Regions from separate parts of the Homo sapiens genome. Here regions 1 and 2 are each linked to region 3. The links are contacts of gene promoters, found by promoter capture Hi-C in human tissues and cell types (Jung and others, 2019). All regions are on one chromosome and are shown on one strand. The core of a region is centred on a gene start or on the middle of the fragment in contact, and the rest is flanking DNA. Distances in the headings are between cores, read along the strand shown.

What was found. Contacts are between HindIII fragments. The study calls those that stand out against the background at their distance.
Region 1: a fragment that was not itself captured here is called in contact with the fragment with the promoter of EXOC3L1 in region 3 in 2 of the 25 tissues and cell types used here (bladder and dorsolateral prefrontal cortex).
Region 2: a contact is called between a fragment that was not itself captured here and the fragment with the promoter of EXOC3L1 in region 3, in 2 of the 25 tissues and cell types used here (dorsolateral prefrontal cortex and spleen).

The regions. Positions count from the first base shown.
Region 1 is chr16:67,445,058-67,448,421 of GRCh38, reverse strand. The region is part of intron 2 of ATP6V0D1 (ATPase H+ transporting V0 subunit d1); the gene reads left to right. Among named protein-coding and RNA genes, the nearest start is that of HSD11B2, 16 kb to the right of the region's middle. RefSeq lists enhancers at 667-1,166, 3,041-3,364. The HindIII fragment of the contact is 4,026 bases long and covers 1-3,264 here.
Region 2 is chr16:67,590,400-67,593,629 of GRCh38, reverse strand. All of the region lies in intron 2 of CTCF (CCCTC-binding factor), which reads right to left. Among named protein-coding and RNA genes, the nearest start is that of CTCF, 29 kb to the right of the region's middle. The HindIII fragment of the contact is 6,285 bases long and covers 1-3,230 here.
Region 3 is chr16:67,188,629-67,192,027 of GRCh38, reverse strand. It overlaps EXOC3L1 (exocyst complex component 3 like 1), which reads left to right and starts at 1,892. Exons shown (of 14, transcript NM_178516.4): 1 at 1,892-2,057; 2 at 2,345-2,397; 3 at 2,848-3,008; 4 at 3,088-3,307. The coding sequence starts at 2,352. RefSeq lists enhancers at 1-51, 1-150. The HindIII fragment of the contact is 11,498 bases long and covers 1-2,939 here.

The DNA of each region.
Region 1 (3,364 bases), core at 2-2,501, 260 kb before region 3:
TCCCAAAGTGCTGGGATAACAGGCATGAGCCACAGCACCCACCCTCATCTTCTATTTATTTTATTTTTTGAGATAGGATCTTGCTCTGTTGCCCAGGCTGGAGTGCAGTGGCATGATCATAGCTCACCTGCAGCCTTGATCTCCTGGGCTCAAGTGATCCTCCTGCCTCAGCCTCCCAAGTGTCTGGTATTACAAGTGCATGCCACCACACCTGGCTAATTTTTTTGATTTTTTAATAGAAATGAGGTCTTGCTATGTTGCCCAGGCTGGCCTCAAACTCCTGAGCTAAGAGAGCCTCCCACCTCTGCCTCCCAAAGTGCTGGGATTACTGGTGTGAGCCACCATGCCTGGCCCTCACTCATCTTGATATGGAGGAGAAACTAAGTCTCGAGAGGTGGTGTGCTGAGGCCATGGACAGAGCTCAGAAACAGTGATATTTCTGTTCACTTTCCACTCTGCACAGGGCTCTTCAGGACCCAGAAGTGATTGAATACAGATACTGTCATTAGCAGCTCACTGGAGCACCTGCTGGGGACTGCAGTGGACAGGCTGGCAGGGTTACCCAGGCATCATGGCTGCCTCACCAGCACCAGACCAGCCACCCGGGGTTGAGAAGCCATATTGTTCCAGCAGGTGGCACCAAAGGGCGCAGCAGAGGGGCAGAGTTGGCTAGGGACTCTGAAGGCTTCTTGGAGGAAGTGGCTTCCTAAACTCCAACCCAAGATGTCTGTGGGCCCAAGCTGAGTTTTGAAGGCACAGGGCAAGGGAGGGCCTCTGGGCAGAGGAATACAGACGGCCCCACCCCCACCCCACAAGGGCCTCTTTGGCCTGGCGGGCAGCCGGCCCTCCACTCCCCAGCTGTCTTCCCCTGGAGGGAGATGCTGACCAGCTGGAACCTTATTCCCTCCTATTGAGGCCAAATGAGGGGAGGAATGGTGGAGTGGCTTTCTGGGGGCAGGGAGGCAGCTGCTGAAGCCAGGCAAGGAGGAAGAGGAGGATTTCCCTGCCTGCCGAAGGCCTCGGCCTTGGGAGAAAGGCAGACTGCTGGGCCAGCCTTATCTCTGCCAGGCCTGTCCAGCCTCTCATCTCCTGAAAAAGAGGATTCTGCCCCTCACTGGGCAGGAGAGAAAAGCAGGGCTGCAGCAGCAACAAGCTTATAGCCAGCCCGGCAAGGGAAGTGCTGGGCCTGGCACAGGATCGCCCACGATTGGCCTGGCTTGGGTTTGAAGAGGGCCTTGAAGGGGCTGGGGTAGTGCGATTGTGAGTGGCCCTTACTAGGCTCAGCATTTCCCCCACATAAACAGATGCCCTGAGTGGGGGGCGCAAGGAGGGGGACGTTGAAAAAGAGGAGATTGGCTGGTGGGGATCCCTCTGAGAAAATGAGACTAGGTGGGGTATGTAGAGCCAGGCAGGGGGCCCTGGTCATGGGTGGAGGTGTGTGGACATTGGCCATGGGGACGTGGAGCTCCTCTGCTTTGTGGTGTGTTAGGGCCTGGTGCTGGCCCTCTCTGGGCCTTATCTGCTCTGACAGTGGGGCTGGTAATGCTAGTGGTTGTGGGATCACTTGGATAAGGTGGGCCTTGGGTGTGCTTTTTCTCCCTCTTCCCGTCCGAAAGGGAGGGAGAGCATAAGAAAGCATCCTTCTGCTTGGGGGCAGGGGATTTGTGACTGTCTCAGGGAGCACCAAGGCTACATTGGGGCTGGATGGGGTGCAGTTAGAGTATTGCGGGGTGGCGCATATGCAGCATGGGTTCTGGGGTATGTGAGATGTTGGAGGCCTCATAGGCAGGAGGCGTGTGTGCTGTCCGGGGTAGAAAATATGCAGGCTGGAGCTGCAGACCATGGCCCAAAGCTCTGGCGAGCTCTGAGGTCCCTCACTCTGCCAGCACTGTGGGGTTGGGGGCAGGAGGCTGCCCATTTGGGCCTCTTGGCTTGCAGCTGCAAGTGGGCCCTGCTTAAGGCTCTCAGTTATGGTTGGGAGTTAGGGGACTGTCTCTTCTCAGTGCACATCCTGTAGCTGACCCAGCCAGATTGGGGGTGGAGAGAGGGCAGTTGCCTGGCTCCAGGCCCAGGAGAGCAAAGGTCTTCGCAGGGCGCCAGGCTGGGTGGGAGCTGGGGGAGTGCAGAGCAAGCAGGGGGAGTGGGGGTCAGGCCAGGACAGGAGCTGGGGCCTTTTCCTCCTGCCGCCTTTCTAGAGGGCCCTGTGGGAGCTCCCCCAGTGGCCAGTGCTTTGAGCCGTGGCCTGGGCCCTGGGCTGCCACCTCCCCTCCTTTCTTTCTTCAGTATGGGGGAAGACACCTCCTACCAAGGTCTTCTCTGGACAGCCTGAGCACTAGTTGCACAAGGTCCTGTCACAGGGCAGGGGCCTAGCTCTGGCCCACTCAGAAGCTAGGACAAGACCCGTGTTCAGTGCCCAGCTCAGAACAGCAGCCTCCACCCCAACTTTTATCCCATAGGTGCCTCACCTTGACCTTGGAGGAATTTCCCCTAGGCCTCATTTAGCTCCCTCATACCCTGAGTTCATCTTTGGTGACAGACTGGAGGATAGTTGTGGCTACTGCAGCCTAACTGTGGAATGGGGCTTACTGCCTTCACTGCATCCCCACACAGGTGACTACACAGAACTCTCTGCCCCAGCCCCTTTGTAGCTGGTTGGAGGCAGAGCCTTGTCCCTTGCCAAGTCTGAACTGGGCAGTCTCACCCCTCCCCAGCTCCACAGCCCCCTCTGCTGCCCATGTACCCCACAGAGCTGGCCTTCTGCAGGGCAGAGTGATGGGAGCCTCGGCCTGGGATCGACCTGACCCAGCCTCCTGTTCAGGTCTCTGGGTCTTATCCAGGCCGTCCTGGGTGAATGCCCAGCCCTGGCCTCAGGCCCTAAAAGAAGAGGACAGTTCTCTATCTCTGGCATAGGCTGTGCAGGTCTGCCTGACCTGGGCCTTCATTCCAGAGAACCCCCACTGGCTCCTTGCTGGCCTTCCCTGGAGAAGCTTCTCTCCACTCCACTCCTCAGCCTTTCCTCCTGTCGCTATCTCTGCCTCTTCCTCTTCTGTCCCCACTGGGGGACAGAGTGACCCTAACTGGATGGCGATTCCCCTGCTTACACCCTGCTCATAGATCCCTAGTGCTCAAAACAAAGCCAGGGCCCTCCAGGCCCAGCCTCTGCCCCCCGCCTGCTGCAGCCCCGTGCTGCCGGCTGCTGCGCCTTTCTCTCCCTCTGCCAGTCCTGACCATGCCAGTTCCTCCAATGCATCCGTCACTCAGTGAGTGCCTCCAGGCCTTTGCACATGCTGTTCCCTCTTCCCAGAACACACTTTCTTCTCCCAGCCCTTTAATTTCCCAGGCTCTCACGCTCTTCACCCCCTGG
Region 2 (3,230 bases), core at 163-2,662, 400 kb before region 3:
TTCTGAAAGTCAACATGAAGGGTACCTAACAAATGGCCTAACAGAGGTTGATACGAACCCTCAGACATCATAAGAAGGCAGAGAACGCACAGCCATAAAAAAGAATGAAATAATGTCCTTTACAGCAACACAGATGCAGCTGGAGGTCATTATCCTAAGCGAATTAAGGCAGGAACAGAAAACCAAGTATCTCATGTTCTCACTTACAAGTGGAAGCTACACACTGGGTACACATGGACATAAACATAACAATAGGCCTTAGGGATTAGGAGGGGGAGGGAGAAAACGGGGTAAGGGCTGCAAAACTAATCATTGGGTACTATGCTCATTACCTGGGTGATGAGCAACAATTGTACCCCCAAACCTCATAATCACACAATATACCCATGTACACAAAAAAACTTGGACATGTACCCCCGAATCTAAAATAAAAGTTGAAATTGTAAAAAATTTTAAGAGAACAGAAGATACCTTGCACCTTTCTCTTTATATGTATAAAATATATATTAAAAACCATATATTAAAATATAAAAAAGATATACAAATATATAAATATAAAATATATATTAAACATTTATACATATATATATAAATTTTTTTTTTCCAGATGGAGTTTCACTCTGTCACCCAGGCTGGAATGCAGTGGCGCGATCTCGGCTCACTGCAACCCCTGCCTCCAGGTTCAACCGATTCTCCTGCCTCAGCCTCCTAAGTAGCTGGGACTACAGGCACATGCCACTGTGCCCCGCTAATTTTTGTATTTTTAGTAGAGACGGGGTTTCACCATGTTGGCCAGGCTGGTCTCAAACTCCTGAGCTCAAGTGATCCACCCACCTCGGCCTCCCAAAGTGCTGAGATTACTGACGTTGAGCCAGTCACCAACGCCTGGCCTCTGTAAGTATCTTTTTTTGATGTTGTTGTTTTTGAGACGGAGTCTCACTCTGTCACCCAGGCTGCAGTGCAGTGGCACGATCTTGGCTCACTGCGACTTCCGCCTCCTGGGCTCAAATAATTCTAATGTCTCAGCCTCCCGAGTGGCTGGGACTACAGGCGCATGCCACCATGCCGGCTAATTTTTATATTTTTAGTAGAGACAGGGTTTCACCATACTGGTCAGGATGGTCTCAAACTTCTGAGCTCTGGTGATCCTCCCACCTCAGCCTCCTAAATTACTGGGATTACAGGCATGAGCCACTGTGCCTGGCCTTATTTATTTTTTTAGACAGATTCTTGCTCTGCCACCCAGGCTGGAGCGCAGTGGCACAATCCCGGCCACTGCAACCTCTGCCTCCAGGGTTCAAGCAATTCTCCTGCCTCAGCCTCCTGAGCAGCTGGGATCACAGGCGTACACCACTATGCCCAGCAAATTTTTGTATTTTTAGTAGAGACAGGGTTTCACTATGTTGGCCAGGCTGGTCTCAAACTCCTGACCTCAGGTGATGTGCCCGCCTCATCCTCCCAAAGTGCTGGGTTTACAGGTGTGAGCCACTGCGTCCAGTCGATAGATCTTTACATTAGAAAAATGTTGACTGAAAAGCTTAGTCTGGTATTCTCACTATACAGAATGTTAAATGACATTAGGACAAGGAGGGGAAAAAAAGCAATTATAAGTCATCAGGTCGGGCACAGTGGCTCACACATATAATCCCAGTACTTGGGGAGGCAGAGCCAAGAGAATCGTTTGAGCCCAGGAGTTCAAGACCAGCCTGAGCAACATAGTGAGACCTTGTCTCCATTAAAAATTAAAAAAAAAATTAGCTAGGTATGATGGCATCCATCTGTAGTCCCAGCTACTCGGGACTGAGGCGGGAGGATCGCCTGAGCCCAGGCTGCAGTAAGCTATCATCACACCACTGCATTCCAGTCTGAGTGACAGCGCAAGACTCTGTGCCCTTACTGCCCCCCCCCAAAAAAAGTAATCAGTTTTTCCTGAGGATGAAAGGAAAAGCTAAGTAACTTTTACTAGATGCAGGACACTAGCCAAAACGAATAAAAGTTATTAACTCTTTTAGAGTAAAAGCTAGGTTTAAAAGTTAAACAAAATAACCATTTTACTCTGCTATTCCTGAAAACATATACGCCATCATCTTATCTGAGAGCTTAAAATACATCAAAGCAAAGTATCAGTGAACTAGTACCAGGAAAGTTGTAGACTACAATAAAGAATGAGGAGGAGTTGAATTGGGAGAATAACTTGGGCTGAGAAGCAGAAAAATAATAGTGACCATTTCTTTCACAGTGACTGGGAACGGAAGCAGCCTTTATCTGAAAAAGCACTCATCTATTTAATCACAACTGTACCTCTCACTTCTCTGACATTAATTTTCATTTATTTTTTGAGACAGAGTCTCGCTCTGTCACCCAGGCTGGAGTGCAGTGGTGAGATCTTGGCTCACTGCAATCTCTGCCTCCTGTGTTCAAGCAATTCTCAGCCTCAGCCTCCTGAGTAGCTGGGATTACAGGCACGCATCACCACGACTAGCTAATTTTTGTATTTTTCGTAGAGATGGGGTTTCATCATGTTGGCTAGGCTAGTCTCAAACTCCTGACCTCAAGTGATCTGCCCGCCTCGGCCTCCCAAAGTGCTGGGATTACGGTGGCTCACGCCTGTAATCACAGCATTTGTGTGAGCCACCCAGTCCAGCATTTTTTTTTTTTTTTTTTTTTTTGAGACAGAGTCTCACTCTGTCATCCAGGCTGGAGTGCAATGGTGCCATCTCAGCTTACTGCAACCTCCACCTCCCGGGTTCAAGCGATTCTCCCGCCTCAGCCTCCCAAGTAGCTGGGATTGATTACAGGCACCAAACATCATGTCCGGCTAATATTTGTATTTTTAGTAGAGACAGGGTTTCGCCATGTTGGCCACGCTGGGCTTGAGCTTCTGACCTCAGCTGATCCACCCTCCTCAGCCTCCCAAAGTGCTAGGATTACAGGTGTGAGCCATCACACCTGGCCGATCACCGTGCTCGGCCAATTTTTAAAAGAACAGTTAGGGCCGGGCACGGTGGCTCACGCCTGTAATCCCAGCACTTTGGGAGGCCGAGGTGGGCAGATCACAAGGTCAGGAGATCGAGACCATCCTGGCTAACACAGTGAAACCCTGTCTCTACTAAAAAAATAAAAATAAAAAATTATAAAATAACAGGGCTTTTTGTATGTGTGTGTGTAGAAATAATTAAAAGGGAAATGAAAATGTTTCTTCTAAGTTAAAAAAAAAGTTAAGAGCATTC
Region 3 (3,399 bases), core at 643-3,142:
GCCTCCGAATAAGACGAAAACTACCTGGGTAGACCGGGGAGTTGGGATGAAGTTGGGGAGGAATGAGAAGGGCGTCAGTGGGCCGCCCTGGCAGTAGAGAAGGGGACGCCATCGGAACTTTCCTTGCCAATCTGCCCCAACATCACTAACTCTGCCTAGTCCCCATCTTGGGAGAGGAGACCACACTACCTGACTAATCCAATCTGCTCCCTCAAACCTGTTCCTTTTCCATTTTTTTCTCTTTATTTATTCTTTTATATATTTCAAACTCATTTTACTGCCACATCAAACCTGTTCCTAAAGGCTGCCCTACTGTCTTGGGGTCACCCCATCTATTCCTATCCCTCACTTCCTGCCAAACAGCAAGCACTAACTATATCTACCTTGTCCACCTTGTTCCACCCATGGTCCTAGCCTCATCTTTCGCTCGTCTTGTCCTCACAGTACAGTGCTCAGAGACTATGGGGTTATGAACACTTCAGCCAATGCAAACGTGTTTACCTATGTGTAAATATCAGTAAAGCACTCAGTCATTCCTGGCATGCAGGAATGTGTGATACGGTCATTTTGTAACTTTTAACATTGTTACTATTTATTATTGTTTCTTTTAGATCAGGTCCTCTGGGAAATGGGACTCGAGATAGGGTTTTGCAGCAAGTTTGTTGGGGATCCACACTTTTTTTTTTTGAGACAGGGTCTCACTCTGTTGCCCAGGCCGGAGTGCAGTGGCAAGATCAATGCCGTCTCAGCTTCCTGGGCCCAAGCGATTCTCCCACCTCAGCCTCCCAAGTAGCTGGGACCACAGGCATGCACCACCATGCCCGGCTCATTTATTTTTAGTTTTTTAGAGATGTGGGTCTCACTATATTGCCCAGGCTAGTCTTGAACTCGTGGGCTCAAGAGATCCTCCCACCTCAGCCTCCCAGAATGCTGGGATGACCGGTGTGAGCCACCGCACCTGGTCAGGATCCACACCTTTAAGGGATTAAGACAAGCAGAATTGAGCAGATGCAATTATATTATAGGCCTCAGCCTATCCCACTAGGATCTCTGAAATTGGGGTAGCACTTCTGAAGGGTTCATGTTCACACGATGGTACCATGCTTTTGCACCCCAATATTGACTGAGAGACTCAGTGGTGTGATCTCAGTAGCCTACACTCCTGGCAGCTGGAGAATGAGCACTTCTGTCCTGAAGGGTGGATTTGGGTGGTGGACTGAACATCCACTAAATAATTACCACCTTATAGTCCCTTCCCTGGCTCCCTATAACTCTCAAGATAAACACAGCTGCCCAGTTGCGGTGACTCACGCCTGTAATCTCCCAACACTTTGGGAGGCTGAGGCAGGCAGATCGCTTGAGCCCAGAAGGCTGCAGTGAGCTATGGTGGTGCCACTGTACTCCAGCCTTGGTGACAGATCAAGACCCTGTCTAAAACAAAAAAGATAAACACAGCTTTCATGACCCTCTCCTACCACCCCCCACCACACCCCTCTTCACAAGAGCCTGCCACCTCTCACTCCTCCGCAGAGGTACACATCCTCCTCAGAGGCTGGCCAACACAGTTTTCATCCTGTGCTGTTGATGTCGTCTGCATCCATATCTGCACACTCTGCCCACCACCCCAGGTTGAGGCCAAGTCTAGCAAATCCCTATCTCCTCTCCTGAGCACTAAGAGGTTCTGGGTAGGCTGGTCAAGACTGGTTGAGTACAAGTACACCCCACCCCCCCGCCCCTCAGGGAAGTGTCGCCCAGCTGTCCCCACCCTCTGTGCAGACACTCTTTCCTGTTGGGAATAAAATGCCAGAGACTCAGCTTCCTTCCTTTCTGTTGATGGCCTTGGGGAGGGAGGAGCCTCGGTGGGAAGAAGGGGCTTCTGGGTGGGGAGTGGGAGAGAGACTTCCTTGGGGAGAGGAATTCAGCTGCACGCTGGAGTCAGCTGGAGTTGCCCAGGCCCTGTGAGCAAGTGGCAGGCGTGCCCAGCTGCATTGGGGAGAGGGCTGTTCTCAAGGCCAAGGTCATTTTTGGAGGGAGAACTGGACGCCTGATCAAATCTGGTAAGTTCTGTACCAAACTGTCCTGTGCAGCTCAGAGCAGGACCAGGGTCCAGTGGAGGCCTGTGCCCACTCTGTCTCGCTTGACATCTGCAGGGGCACGACTGGGAAACCTAGCAGGCAAAGCCTCCCAGGTGCCCTCCGCATCACACCCGCTCCCTCTCACTTCCCGAGGGGGCCGGGAAGAACCTCCTTCCTCCTCTCAGAAGGGCTTAGACAGAGGCAGCAGCTCACAGGGGCATCTACTCTGCCTGCTTGCCCCGGGCCCACCTCAGCTCTGGCTCCTCCAGGCCCACAATGGACTCAGCAGCCAAGGATGAGATGCAGCCGGCGTTGTCCCCTGGTATGAACCTTTTGGGTGGACTAGGGGAGGAATGATGGCAACAAAGATGGGACTGGCTGGGCGCAGTGGCTCACGCCTGTAATCCCAACACTTTGGGAGGTCAAGATGGGCAGATGACCTGAGGTCAGGAGCTCCAAACCAACCTGGCCAACATAGTGAAACCCCGTCTCTACTAAAAATACAAAAACTAGCTGGGCGTGATGGCACGCGCCTGTAATCCCAGCTCCTCGGGAGACTGAGGCAGGAGAATCGCTTGAACCCGGGAGGCGGAGGTTACAGGGACCCGAGATTGCACCACTGCACTCCAGCCTGGGCAACAGAGCGAGACTCCATCTCAATAAACAAATAAACAAACAAATAAATAAATAAATAAATAAATAAGAAAGCTGGGACTGGGGTCGTTGGGCCCTCCTCCCTGACTACACGGCTGCCCAGGCTCTTCCTTCCCAGGACCTGAGTGGCCAGAGCAGGAGCGGGCAGAGCAGCTGGCCCGGGGTGCAGCGCTCAAGTGGGCCTCAGGCATCTTCTACCGGCCGGAGCAGCTGGCCAGGCTAGGCCAGTACCGCAGCCGCGAGGTGCAGCGTACCTGCTCCCTGGAATCGCGCCTCAAGGTGGGCATGGGGCAGGGGGTGCGGGTGCTGGGACTGTGCTGCAGGGCTGGCCCAGCCTCATGGCTCCATCTTTCCACAGTCAGTGATGCAGTCATACCTGGAAGGCGTGCAGACTGGTGTGTGGCAGCTGGCCCAGGCCATTGAGGTGGTGCAGGGAACCCGGGAGGCCCTGAGCCAGGCCCGTGGGTTGCTCCAGGGCATGTCCCAGGCCTTACAGACTCTAGAGCCCCTACGGGAGCGGGTTGCCCAGCACAAGCAACTGCAGGCCCTGTCTCACCTGCTGCCTCGGCTGCGGGCAGGTGAGCATGCAGGGACCCTGGGCCTCAGCCTCCAATAGTCAGTCCACAAACACCCATCCCTAATCAAGGGGCTGGGGCACTAGATGGGGAAC